Linked DNA regions of Homo sapiens: regions 1 and 3 are each linked to region 2. Evidence: promoter capture Hi-C in human tissues and cell types (Jung and others, 2019). All regions are on one chromosome and are shown on one strand. The core of a region is centred on a gene start or on the middle of the fragment in contact, and the rest is flanking DNA. Distances in the headings are between cores, read along the strand shown.

Evidence for each region. Contacts are between HindIII fragments. The study calls those that stand out against the background at their distance.
Region 1: a contact is called between a fragment that was not itself captured here and the fragment with the promoter of MTMR12 in region 2, in 1 of the 25 tissues and cell types used here (dorsolateral prefrontal cortex).
Region 3: a fragment that was not itself captured here is called in contact with the fragment with the promoter of MTMR12 in region 2 in 1 of the 25 tissues and cell types used here (dorsolateral prefrontal cortex).

The regions. Positions count from the first base shown.
Region 1 is chr5:31,578,570-31,582,627 of GRCh38, reverse strand. No RefSeq gene overlaps it. Among named protein-coding and RNA genes, the nearest start is that of C5orf22, 48 kb to the right of the region's middle. The HindIII fragment of the contact is 9,056 bases long and covers 1-4,058 here.
Region 2 is chr5:32,311,628-32,315,762 of GRCh38, reverse strand. MTMR12 (myotubularin related protein 12) reads left to right here and starts at 2,824. Exons shown (of 16, transcript NM_001040446.3): 1 at 2,824-3,005. The coding sequence starts at 2,925. RefSeq lists an enhancer at 2,356-2,405 and silencers at 2,496-3,285, 3,356-3,495. The HindIII fragment of the contact is 13,800 bases long and covers 1-4,135 here.
Region 3 is chr5:31,596,941-31,601,256 of GRCh38, reverse strand. No RefSeq gene overlaps it. Among named protein-coding and RNA genes, the nearest start is that of PDZD2, 40 kb to the left of the region's middle. The HindIII fragment of the contact is 4,528 bases long and covers 1-3,645 here.

The sequences.
Region 1 (4,058 bases), core at 406-2,905, 730 kb after region 2:
AGGCATATACGGTAATAAACTGTTTGTTTTTCTCATGTTAATCTCTCTTTTGTTAGAGGTAGTCCCAATTAAGACCTATTAAGGGTAGAGAGAAAATTATTTTTCCATCCCTGCAACTGGGAAGAAGTCTCTGAAGCGGACACTTTTTCACTTTGGCTTGGAGGGCGTGACAGGCAACAGGAGAGGGCTTAATGCAGAGGGGCACAAAGTACCCCAGGGCACAGGTAGGTACTGTGCAAGCCCCTGCATCCAGGGAGGTGGGTGACTTCTGGTCCACTGTGGACCTGACCACACTCTCCCCCAAGATCACTCACAGACACTGGGAGGAGAGTAGGAAGCCTAGGGGTGTTGGGTTAGAACTGGAAACACCTGGGTCGGGGGCAGGGCGGACTGCACGTAATCATGTAATGAGGAATGGCTGTTCATTTCTAGCATAAAAGAGAATGCATTGCAAGCACATTTAAAGAAATGAGTGCTCTATGAATAGTGCTAAATTAAAAATTCTTGGACAAAAGGATGTTCTTCAAGTTCCAGATTATTCAGAAACAAATTTATATGTGCAAACTGGACATGAGCTATTCTTTCATTCAACTGTTATTTATCGGGTGCAGGCTATGGGATGCTGTCAGCATTCAAGGCACTGGGAACCAAAAAAGTTCTTACCCTTGTGTCATATTCTAGTGACACCTATTCAGTTTTAGTTCATCTTTCTAGATTAAAAACACACACACACACACACAACAATTGTCAGAAACCAACTTAAAGATTTGTCAAGACTAATTTAAGTGACTGACCAACAATAGTCAAAAAACTTAGATGCATATGTAATGGGATGTTTTTTAACATTCTTCTTATTAAAAGAAAATTGCATCATTGCCTTTATAGTAATATGTTAAGATCATAAAACTGAAAAGCGCTCCTTTGATAAATCTGGTAGTCTAGGGCCACCTGGTGTCCAAACTATTTAATTACGTTATTTAGCAAAGAAAAAAGAATACTTTTTTTTTTTCTGGTATGATTCCACTTATGGGATGTCCAGACAGGCAAATCCATAGAAACAGAAAGCAGGACAGTGCTTTACTCTTTTAAACTTGAAATTCCCTAATTAAAAGAAGATATTCCCACAATTAAAGATTAGAACTTAAAATATATTAGCCAGGTGTGGTGGCATGCACCTGTTAAGGAACAAAGATTCTGTATTAGTTTCCTATTGCTGCTGTAAAAAATTATCACTAACTTGGTGGTTTAATGCAATACAAGTTTATTACTTTACAATTCTAGGGTCATATGTTCATAATGGGTCTCTAAAATCAAGGTGTCAGCAGGGCTCTGTTCCTTCTAAAGGCCGTAGAGGAGGATCCATGTCTTTCCCCTTTCTACCATCTAGAGGCTGCCTGAATTCTTTGGCGGGCAGTCCCCTACTGTCTTCAGAGCCAGTGATGACTGCTGAGTCTTTTCCATGATGCACCCCCTCTGACGCTACCTCTGGGCCCACCTGGATGATCCAGGCTACTCTCCCCATCTCAAAGTCAGTGGATTTTTTTTCTTTTAACAGAGATGGGGGTCTTGCTGTGTTGCCAGGTTGGTCTCAAACTCCTGAGCTCAAGCAATCCTCCCTCCTTGGCCTCCCAGAGTGCTGGGATTATAGGCATAAGCCACTGCACCTGGTCGTCAGTGGATTTCTTAGTTGCATCTGCAAACTTAATTCTCCCTTGCCCTATAACATAACCTATTCACAGGTTTTGGAGATTTGGATGAGGCCCTCTTTGGGGAAAAGACATTTTTTGCCTATCATAGAGTCCATTAGTTTTTTCTGGAGGCAAATATGCTACTTTTTAAGTTTCAGTTAAATGGGAAAGACATTAAACTGTTTCTCTGTCCCTATTTGTAACTTGGAATCGATGAACAGGAAGAGAAACATTGCTTCTGCCAATGCCTGTAAAATTAACCAAGGGTTTAAAAATCCCCACAGTGAATTTTTATTTATGCTTTCTTTACTAATCTTAGCTAGAAAAACCCAAACTAAATATTAAAAAATGTTGATCTTAAATTAATTCAAGTTGACAAAGACAGGTGTAAGCCCAAATACTGCTTGATAGTACACGAAACATACAAGTAGAAGGTTTTGTTTGTTTGTTTGTTTGTTTACTGGGCAAAATGGTTTTATCTGCAAACTAGTTAGAATGAAGCTCACAAAAATGGAAAAATAGGGACCTCTGAAGGGGATAAAGAAGGAGAAAAGAGGAAGATAACGGGGGTCTGTTTTTTACCTGTACCTCTTCATCACAGTAGCAGGTGAACACCCTGCATATATTGGTCATTGGCCAGCAAGAGCAAGAGTGACCCTCCATACCCAGGAGATTTGAATGGGTTGCTCCTGAAGTGGCCTTCAGAGTGAGGATGATAAACACTGTCCTTCTCTTTTCTGTGAATGTAGGCAGTGTATGCCCATCTAACTTCAATGGAAAATCAGCCAGAAAAAGCGCTTGGATTTTCAATAGTGCTGCCCTGCCTTTTCTGGAATGTCATATATAAGGGGCTATGGTAAGGGGACATCAGTATTATCTAGGTAGAATGAGAAAAAAGAGAATTGAATTATTCAAAGTAATTGAATCATTTTAGAATATTCAACTATTAATAATAATTGAGTATTCAATTATTTCTGTTATAAAAATGCTTTAGCAACTGTTAATAGTGCTGATAGTAGTAAAGAGAGTCTTTCCAGGACCTATGTAAGGCTTTTCTCCAGTTTGAGGAAGCCTTCATGAAAACATTACCTCCAAGAACCTCCTTAAAGTTATGTATTAATTAAAATTTAATAATTTTAATTAATAAATTTAGTAATTAACAATAAGTATAACAATAATTATTTAAAATAATTTAATTAAATATTTAATAATTAAAATTATTAAAGTATTTTAATAAATAGCAGTCATTAAATTGCTAGCTTAAGTCTTGGCAGTATGTGTTATATAGTTTTCATTGTAGAGGTTTTACATGTCTTTTGTTAAAGTTTTTCCTAAGTATTTCGTAAATTTTAATGCTTTTAAAAATGGTAATGCCGGCTGGGCGTGGTGGCTTACACCTGTAATCCCAGCACTTTTGGGAGGCTGAAGCGGGTGGATCACAAGCTCAGGAGATCGAGACCATCCTGGCTAACACGGTGAAACCCCATCTCTACTAAAAAATACAAAAAAATTAGCCAGGCGTGGTGGTGGGCGCCTGTAGTCCCAGCTACTCCGGAGGTTGAGGCAGGAGAATGGCGTGAACCCGGGAGGCGGAGCTTGCAGTGAGCCGAGATCGAGCCATTGCACTCCAGCCTGGGCGACATAACGAAACTCCGTCTCAAAAAAAAAAAAAAAAAAAAAAAAAAAAAAAGGTAATGCCTACCTGGCCCTTTGGAAAATTAAAAAAAGAAAAGAAAAAAATGGTAATGGTTTTATTTATTCCTTTCCAATATGTATGACTTTATTTTTCTTACCTTTTTACACTGGTAAGACCTCCAGTATAATATTGAATAACGGTGGGGAAAGTGAACATTCTTGCTTTGTTCACAGCCATAAGGGAAAGGTAGTCAATATTTCACCATTAAGTATGCTATTATCTTTAGGTTTTTTCCTAGATGACTTTTATCAAGAAGTTCCCTTCTGGTCTTAGTTTACTAAGAGATTTTCATTTTTAAATCATGATGGCTATTATTGAATTTTGTCACAGGCATTTTGTTGCATTTATTGAGATGATCATATGATTTTTCTCCTTTATTCTGTTAGTGTGACAAATAGCAACAATTGATTTTCAAGTGTTAAAGCAACTTTGCATCCCTAAAGTAAACCCCACTTAGTCACAATGTATTATCCTTCCTTTTCATGTATTGCTCCTTTCAACACTCTATTTTCCCTTCCCTTCCCCTCCCTCCCTCCCTCCCTCCCTGCCTCCCTCCCACCTTTCTTTCTTTCTTTCTTTCTTTCTTTCTTTCTTTCTTTCTTTCTTTCTTTCTTTCTTTCTTCCTTCCTTCCTCCCTTCCTTTTCTTTCTTTCTTTTCTTTCTTTCCTTCTTTC
Region 2 (4,135 bases), core at 1,575-4,074:
AACCTCCTGAGTACCTTGTACTACAGGCTTGCACCACCATGCCTGACTAATTTTTTAATGTTTCATAGAGACAGGGCCTCACTATATTGTCTGGGCTGGTCTTGAACTCCTGAACTCAAGTGAGCCTCCTACTTTGGCCTTTAAAAGTGCTGGGATTACAGGTGTGAGCTACTGCACCCTGCCTGGGGCTAGGGTATTTAAGGGTTTTGAAGTGGACCAAAGTGTGGAGATCATCAATTGGTTGAAAAGTGCAGGGTAAAGTCATGAGACAGAGAGATGAAGAAATTGTATTCTCGCACTGATTCGGTTCCTGTGTGTGTGTGGGTGTGTGTGTGTGTGTGTGTGTGTGTGTGTTGGGGCGGGGGCGGTCTTTAAACTGGTTGATGTCGGCTGTTCTGCTGGAACGTAGGATCTGCCTAAGCAATTCTTAAATAAAACCCTTATGATTCCAGAGCCAGAAATCCTACCTATTGAAACAACAGGGATGCAAATGGTCAGTACCTAGTGTTACCTGAAGTTATTAATACAAAGAAGCAGGCCGAACTGCAGCCTGATTAATGCTTAGTTATAACTCTATTTTTGTGCAGAATTCTTCTCAACCTTGTAAGGATGGCCTCAACTTGGACTCCCCAAATAGAATTGACCACACTTTCATTGTGCTCCTTTCTAATTTGTATAATTATAATGTTAAGAACTTGGGATTTCGAATGAGACAAACCCGGGTTGAAATCCCAGCTCTCTCAGTGACTAGTTGTGAGACCTGGGCAAATTACTTGCATCTCTGTTTTGTCACCTGGAAACTGGGATAAGGAAACTCAGAGGCGGCTGCAGCACAGCTATACCAAATATTGGCTTACAGGTGGCAATCTAGCTGGAAACGGAGCTGCAGGACTTGCGTTGAAACTATGTTTGCAAAAGCAAGCACATTTGTTTTCACTAAGATTTTATATTTACTTGGAGTGTATTTGGGAAGGGGGAGCACATGGAGATTAAGAGGGTAAAAATCAAGGTCACCAATGAGAGTACTTAGCACAGTGCCTGACGCCTAAAAAATTAACTGCAAATATTTATGTTTTTTTCCACTAGATTGAATTTCTTAAGAGCTGGATTCTATCTTATTTATCTGCAACTAACAACGCTTGGCACCAAATGTAGAACTGAAATGAATTTTCTTTGCAATCTTGACTAAAAAATGAGGGTTTTATCAATAACTTCGTAGAGTAAATAGAAGTCTCTTAAGGGCTCTTGATATTCTTCCTGTTGGAAACACAAAGAAGGGAAAGGTTTGGAAAAATGAAGTTGACAAAGTCTTTTATTATCAAACGCTCAAACTTATTCCTCACTGCCTTGTTAACACTTGATTTGACACTTTTTTTTTTCTGTTTGAGACACAGTCTTGCTCTGCCACCCAGGCTGGAGTGCAGTGGCGCGATCCTGGCTCACTGCAACCTTGGTTCAAGCGATTCTCGTGCCTCAGCCTCCCGAGTAGCTGGGATTACAGGCGCCCGCCACCACACCAGGCTAATTTTTGTATTTTTAGTAGAGATAGGGTTTCTCCATGTTGGCCAGGCTGGTCTCAAACTCCTGACTTCAGATGATCCACCCGCCTCGGCCTCCCAAAGTGCTGGGATTAGAGGCGTGAGTCATCGTTTGTCTCATTTTTGTTTACATTTAAAATAATAAACCTTGAGGTCGGGCGCGGTGGCTCACGCCTGTAATCCCAGCACTTCGGGAGGCCGAAGCGGGTGGATCATCTGAAGTCAGGAGTTTGAGACCAGCCTGGCCAACATGGTGAAACCCCCGTCTCCATTAAAAATACAAAAATTAGCGGCATGGCGCGGTGGCTCATGCCTCTAATCCCAACACTTTGGGAGGCTGAGGCGGGCGGATCACGAGGTTAGGGGTTTGAGACTAGCCTGGCCAACATGGTGAAACCCCGTCTCTACTAAAAATACAAAAATTAGCCGGGTGTGATGGCAGGCGCCTATAATCCCAGCTACTCGGGAGGCTGAGGCAGGAGAATCGCTTGAACCTGGGAGGCAGAGGTTGCAGTGAGCCTATACTACGCCATTGCACTCAAGCCTGGGCGACAGAACGACACACACACACACACACACACACACACACAAAATTAGCTGGATATAGTGGCGGGCGCCTGTAATCCCAGCTACTCAGGAGGCTGAGGCAAGAGAATCGCTTGAACCTGGGAGACGGAGGTTGCAATGAGCAGAGATCGCGCCATTGCACTCCAGCCTGGGCGACAAGAGCAAAACTCCGTCTCAAAAGTAAATAATAATAAAATAAAAAACCTTGAACGTCATCGCTGTAAGTTGGGAACTCCTATAGCAAGATTCCATACATCCCATTTTTGGACGTTTTATTCCAAAGACACAAGCAAACGGAAGAAAACGACTGCCGTGAACCCCTGCTAACGACAACTTGGTGACTGCAGGATCATTGGACGACGGTTTTATCCTCGCCATCCAATCGTTGGAAAGTCCGGAGAGAACGCTCTCTGGATTGGTTGGAGGAAACATCTCTCCAAGTGCACTCAAGAATGGGTTGGGAGCGGGGTTCGGCCGGCAGCGCCTCGGGCCAATCAGAGAAAGCATGAGGGCGGGCTCTGCCGCAGGAAGGTGGTGAATCTCGGCGGGTCAAACTCTCCTGACGTGATGGGGGGGCGTGGCCTCCAGTTGCGGTCTCCCGGCTCTCTGGGCCCGCGCACGGGATGGGCGGGGCCCACGGGCCTGGGCGGGGCGAGCGGTGTCAGCGGCGGAGCCGGATGCGGGCGGCATCGCGGCGGTCGCGGCCTTGGGGATGGGCGGAGCCCCAGCCGCTAGTGCTGGTGGCCGCCGCTGCTGCCCCAGCTGGAGCCCGAGCCGCCGCCTCTGCGTCCGCGCGTCGCTGCTTCCCAGGGCGGCGGTATGCTGGGGAAAGGAGTAGTCGGCGGTGGCGGCGGCACCAAGGCCCCCAAGCCCTCCTTCGTGTCGTACGTACGCCCTGAGGTGAGGGGGCGCCGCGCAGGCGGGGCGTCGGGCAGGGGCGGCCGGGGCGAGGGGCGCCGGGAGCCCCTTCCTTGCAGCGGGGAGCGCCGCGGAGCGCTTCCTGCCCTTGTGCCGGGCGACGGGGCAGCCAGGCGGGCTGAGGCCGCAGGAGCGCGCTGGGGCCTCCGCGCGGGCCGGAATGGGGACCCCGGCGCAGGCAGGCAGGTGCCTGAGCGCAGGGCCCGAGCGCTGGAGGCTGGTGGAGGGGCCCGAGCCGAGAAGGGATTGCGGCCCGGAACGCCCCTGGGGATTCTGGAGAGGACCTGGGGTTGTGGGCACTGCTGGGAGGGGTAGGGCCGTGGGTCGGAGCCCCCAACGGGGCCTGCTCGGAGCCCGCGTGGGTCCGTCCTGCCTCTGGACTTTCTCAGTGAGCCCAGAAGCCCGCCGGCCTCCGCTGCCTGCGTCTGAGTGCCTCGGGTGCGGCTGGCGGGATGCCCTGCACCTACGTCCGCCTCCCGTCAGCGCTGCGGGGAGAAAAGGGGGTCGGCCTGGCCTCAGCCAGTCTCTGCTTGTCTCTCCCTTGGGAATTCTCCGCTGTCGCTTCTTTCTCCTCATCCCCTCACCATCATCCTTTCCACCCACTTCTTACTCTTCTGAATCTTCAGGTCAAGAAATTTGTTCATTCATTCAGAAAATACTTCTCGAGCTCCTACTGTGTGTCAGGCACTAAGTGCTTGTGATAGACATCAGTGAACAGGACAGAGATCTCTGCATTCCTGGAGCTTATTTGAGGGGGAAAGGAGAAACGGGGTGAATTATAGATAATTAAGTAAATTATACGGTGTAGTAGGAGGTGATAAATATCATGGGAAAGAAAAGAAATCTTTTTCCTCCTCGCAAAGGTGGCATTTGAGCCGAGACTTGAAGATACGAGAGGTCTGAGAGAAGAGTCGTCCAGGTAGAGGGAACAGCCCCCGGGAAGGTCGTGAGGTGGGAGTGTGTCTGAAGGGTTGGCGGAGCGTCAAGGAAGCCAGCATGGCAGAGGCCCATGGACAAGGGGGACAGTCATAGGAGAGGAGGTTAGAGAGATCAGAACTTGTAGGCCTTGCTCAGGGCTTCTTGAGCAATAGTTCTTAATCCAAATGCCTAAT
Region 3 (4,316 bases), core at 132-2,631, 710 kb after region 2:
TAAAGTAGAGGGTATAGTTAGGGAATCCAAAACCAGAGCAAAGTGGCAAATAATTGGACAATAAGAGAGAAAACATAAGAAATTAGATGCTCAATCCAGGAAGCCTGACAACTAATTAATAGGAGTGCCAGAAAGAGAACAGAAAAGACTGGTGGAGAAAAGTATTAATAAAATAACGTAAGAGAATTTTTCAGAGCTGAAGAACATGAGCCTTTTCTCAAAAAGAACTTTTTGGTATCTAGCCCAATGAGTAAAAGACAAATGAACAAACAAACAAATATCCCACAAGGCCAGGCACGATGGCTCACGCCTGTAATCCCAGCACTTTGGGAAGCCAAGGCAGGAGGATTGCTTGAGCACAGGAGTTCGAGACCAGCCTGGGCAACATAGTGAAACCCTGTCTCTACAAAAAATACAAAAACTTAGCTAGGCGTGGTGGCACATTCCTGTAGTCCCAGCTACCCGGGAGGCTGAGGTAGACGAATCACCTGAGCCCAAGAGATCGAAGCTGCCATGGGCCATCCTCATGCCACTGCACTCCAGCCTTGGTGACAGAGTGAGACGCCGTCTCAAAAAAAAAAAAAAAAAAAAAATTCCCATCAAATAACATAAACCAGTGACAACAAAGGACTTATTATTACAAAATTTCAAACCCTAGGGATAAACAGAAGTCTCTAAAAGCTCTGGTAGGAGTGGAGAAATAGAGTGGAGACAGAAAACTAATGAATAGAAGATTGTGAATAAGAATGGCATCAAACTTCTCATGGAAATAGAAGGTAGAAGATAATGGAGATATACCTTCAAATTTCCAAGGGAAAGTTATTTTTTGTTTAACCAAGAATTACATATTTAGCCAAATTTGCTATCAAGTAAAAGGGTAGAAAAGAGACATTTTTACACATACAAGTCTTCAAAAAATGTACCTCCTGTGAAATTAAATAATTCAAACTTAAAGCTGTTGGACATTTGAATTATTCTGAGCTTCAAGTGGAGGGTGGCTATGTAGTCTGAGTCACGCAGCATGCAGCTGCAACTTCTGCCTTGTTTTCTTGTAAATGATTAAGAAGACCAAATGGCCTCAGACATGAGACCCCCTCAGATCACTACCTCCCTCATGGAGCAATAGAGTAATCTTCCTTGGGATGTAGCAATCTGTAACCAATCAAATTGCTCTCATATACGGAACGGTCTTGTAAGGAAAATGCTGTAATCTGCTAAAATTTCTCTGTTTCTGCCTATATAAGTGAAACCTTAACTTTTTTTTTTTTTTTTTTTTTGAGACAGAGTCTTGCTCTGTCGCCAGGCTGGATGGAGTTCAGTGGCGCGATCTTAGCTCACTGCAACCTCCACCTCCCAGGTTCAAGTGATTCTCCTGCCTCAGCCTCCCAAGTAGCTGGGACTACTAGTGCATGCCACCACACTAGGCTAATTTTTGTATTTTTAGTAGAGATGGGCTTTCACCATGTTGGACAGGATGGTCTCGATCTCTTGACCTCATGATCCACCCGCCTCGGCGTCCCAAAGTGCTGGGATTACAGGCTTGAGCCACCGCGCCTGGCCTGAAACCTTAACTTCTCCACTTTGGAATTCTGACCTTGTTTGTTTGTAGTCACTGGTTCCCGTGCGGCCATCCTCAAGGCTTGTGTTTGAATAGACTATGTACAAATTTATATTTTCTGTATCTCATTACTTAAGGTTGACATTTTGGCGACCATGATGGGACTTGAAGCAGAACTTCAGCAATCCTCATCGCTTTGTCAACAACTTGAGCCTTGGTACCAGCACAAATGATTTTCATTTTCCTGACTTCACAGGCTATGCAAATCTCTGGTAAGGCCCCTTTCAAGTTTGAGTTCTCCTGGATTGGTTGAGGATGCAGACTTTATTTGCATTACACACATTCCTAACTCAATGGGGTTGGAACTGAAGTTCTACAACAAGGTAGGAGTTTGGTTTGTTATTCTCTAGAGATTCTGATAATTGCAGATTTGTGATTTTCACTTTTCTCTGAGCTTAAGGTTTTATTTGGAACTACTGCTTGGAGTTTTCCAACCTTTTCTCTTGTACCAAATTTTGGTTAGGGAGAAAACAGTTTCTCTCTGAAAAGAGGAAGTGAATCTCTGTGGCTTAAGCGAAAATTTTATAAACTTTAGAGCTGGTCAGATTCTGAAGCTTGGTTCAATTGACAAATCTAAGCTTTTTTTTTTTTTTTTGAGTGACAATATTACAAAAGGCTCTCTATGAGGACAAGATAAGTCCTGAGGATAAGAGACATTGTCTTTCCCAGCCAAAAGGCACCTTTAGTGAGTAAGGTCTTGAGGGAGTGTTGGAGCTTATCGCTCATGACATAAACTGTTCTAAAGGGAATCCCTTCAGAAGAATATATGGGGAACTTTGCTTAATCCTGTGAGCACACATACAAGTTGATCACCTAGTGCCTTAAGCACTCAAGTCTCTTGGGACCACCAAGACACATAAACGAGAAGAACTGACTCCAGGGTGATACTTTGAAGAGCTATTCCCACAATCAGCACACTCAATCCAAAACACCTCCCACTAGGTCTTTTTGGTCATTCAAAAGTAAAGTCTAAATTCTGAGCAATCATACTTCTAAAACTGAGTCTTCTTCCTTATGGAGAGATCCACCCTTAGAAACATCAGCTAGATTCATTTTTAATATTTATGGCACTTTTATATGCAAATATTTAGAAAAATGGTCTCACATAACTCACAATGACCAAATGAGCCAAATTATAATGGCCAAATGGGGGTAACTTTTAAGTACCTAACCTAGTTTGCACACTCAATTAGAAAAAGCTGGCACTAAAATAAAATAAAGCAACTGGCAGATTGATTTTCAGTGGTACTTGGAAGCTTCAAAAGAGGTTCTGATAAAATCATTTCTTTGCAAGAAGAAAACAAAAGTGCCTAAAACAATTTTTTTTTTTTGAGACGGAGTCTCGCTCTGTTGCCCAGACTGGAGTGCAGTGGCGTGATCTCTGCTCACTGCAAACAAACTCTGCCTCCCGGGTTCCCGCCATTCTCCTGCCTCAGCCTCCCAAGTAGCTGGGACTACAGGTGCCCGCCACCGCGCCCGGCTAAATTTTTTGTATTTTTTAGTAGAGATGGGGTTTCACCGTGTTAGCCAGGATAGTCTCGATCTCCTGACCTTGTGATCAGCCCGCCTCGGCCTCCCAAAGTGCTGGGATTATAGGCGTGAGCCACCGCACCCGGCCCTAAAACAATTTTTAAATTGAAAAAGACTGCTGAAATTTCTCCTTCTTCAGCTCTTCTTTCTCTTTTGTCAAAACTTCTTTGTTTGGACTTACCTTCCCTCTCTCCTCACCCCTCCCTCCCTCCTTCCCTCTTCCTTTCCTCCTTTCCTCCTTTCCTCCCTTCCTCCCTTCCTTCCTTCCTTCACCTCTGCCTCCTCCTTCTGCTGTTCTGACTCCATTTTGGGAATACCCTATGTCTAGTAGAGGAGAATCTGCCTTGGTTTAAAGAATTCCTGGATCCTCTTCAGGACCGCTACTGGATTTGCTAGAGAATTTGTTTTGTTTTTGAGACAGGGTCTTGCTGTGTCACTCAGGCTGGAGTGCAGTGGTGTAATCTCGCTTCACTGCAACCTCCACCTCCTGGGCTCAAATGATCCTCCCACCTCAACCTACCAAGTAGCTGGGATTACAGGCATGCACCACGATGCCTGGTTAATTTGCTAGAGAATTTGTATATGTGCTGCCGAAGTGAGCACAATTTGCTAGAGAATTTGAATTAAACATTCACACTTATAATCCTAGATTTTCTGATTTATTTCAGTTGGTTCACATTTAGTGTTACAAAGTAAAGCCAGGCTGGGCATGTGGCTCACGCCTGTAATCCCAGCACTTTGGGAGGCTGAGGCAGGTGGTTCACGAGGTCAGGAGATCGAGACCATCCTGGCTAACATGATGAAACCCTGTCTCTACTAAAAATACAAAAAATTAGCCGGGCGTGGTCGTGGACGCCTGTAGTCTCAGCTACTCAGGAGGCTGAGGCAGGAGAATGGTGTGAACCTGGGAGGCAGAGCTTCCAGTGAGCAGAGATCGCTCCACTGCACTCCAGCCTGGGTGACAAAGCAAGACTCCGTCTCAAAAAAAAAAAAAAAAAAAAGAAATTAAAGCCGAAGATTAGATAGCAAAGGCAAGTTGGAGAAATCCTTTAGAGGATCATGAATGGGTCTGCAATACCGCCAAAGTTTTACTAGCCACTATTCCCTTTGGTTTCTAAAGATTGGAACAAAATACAACAATGCAAATAAAATATTGATAAGGCCGTAA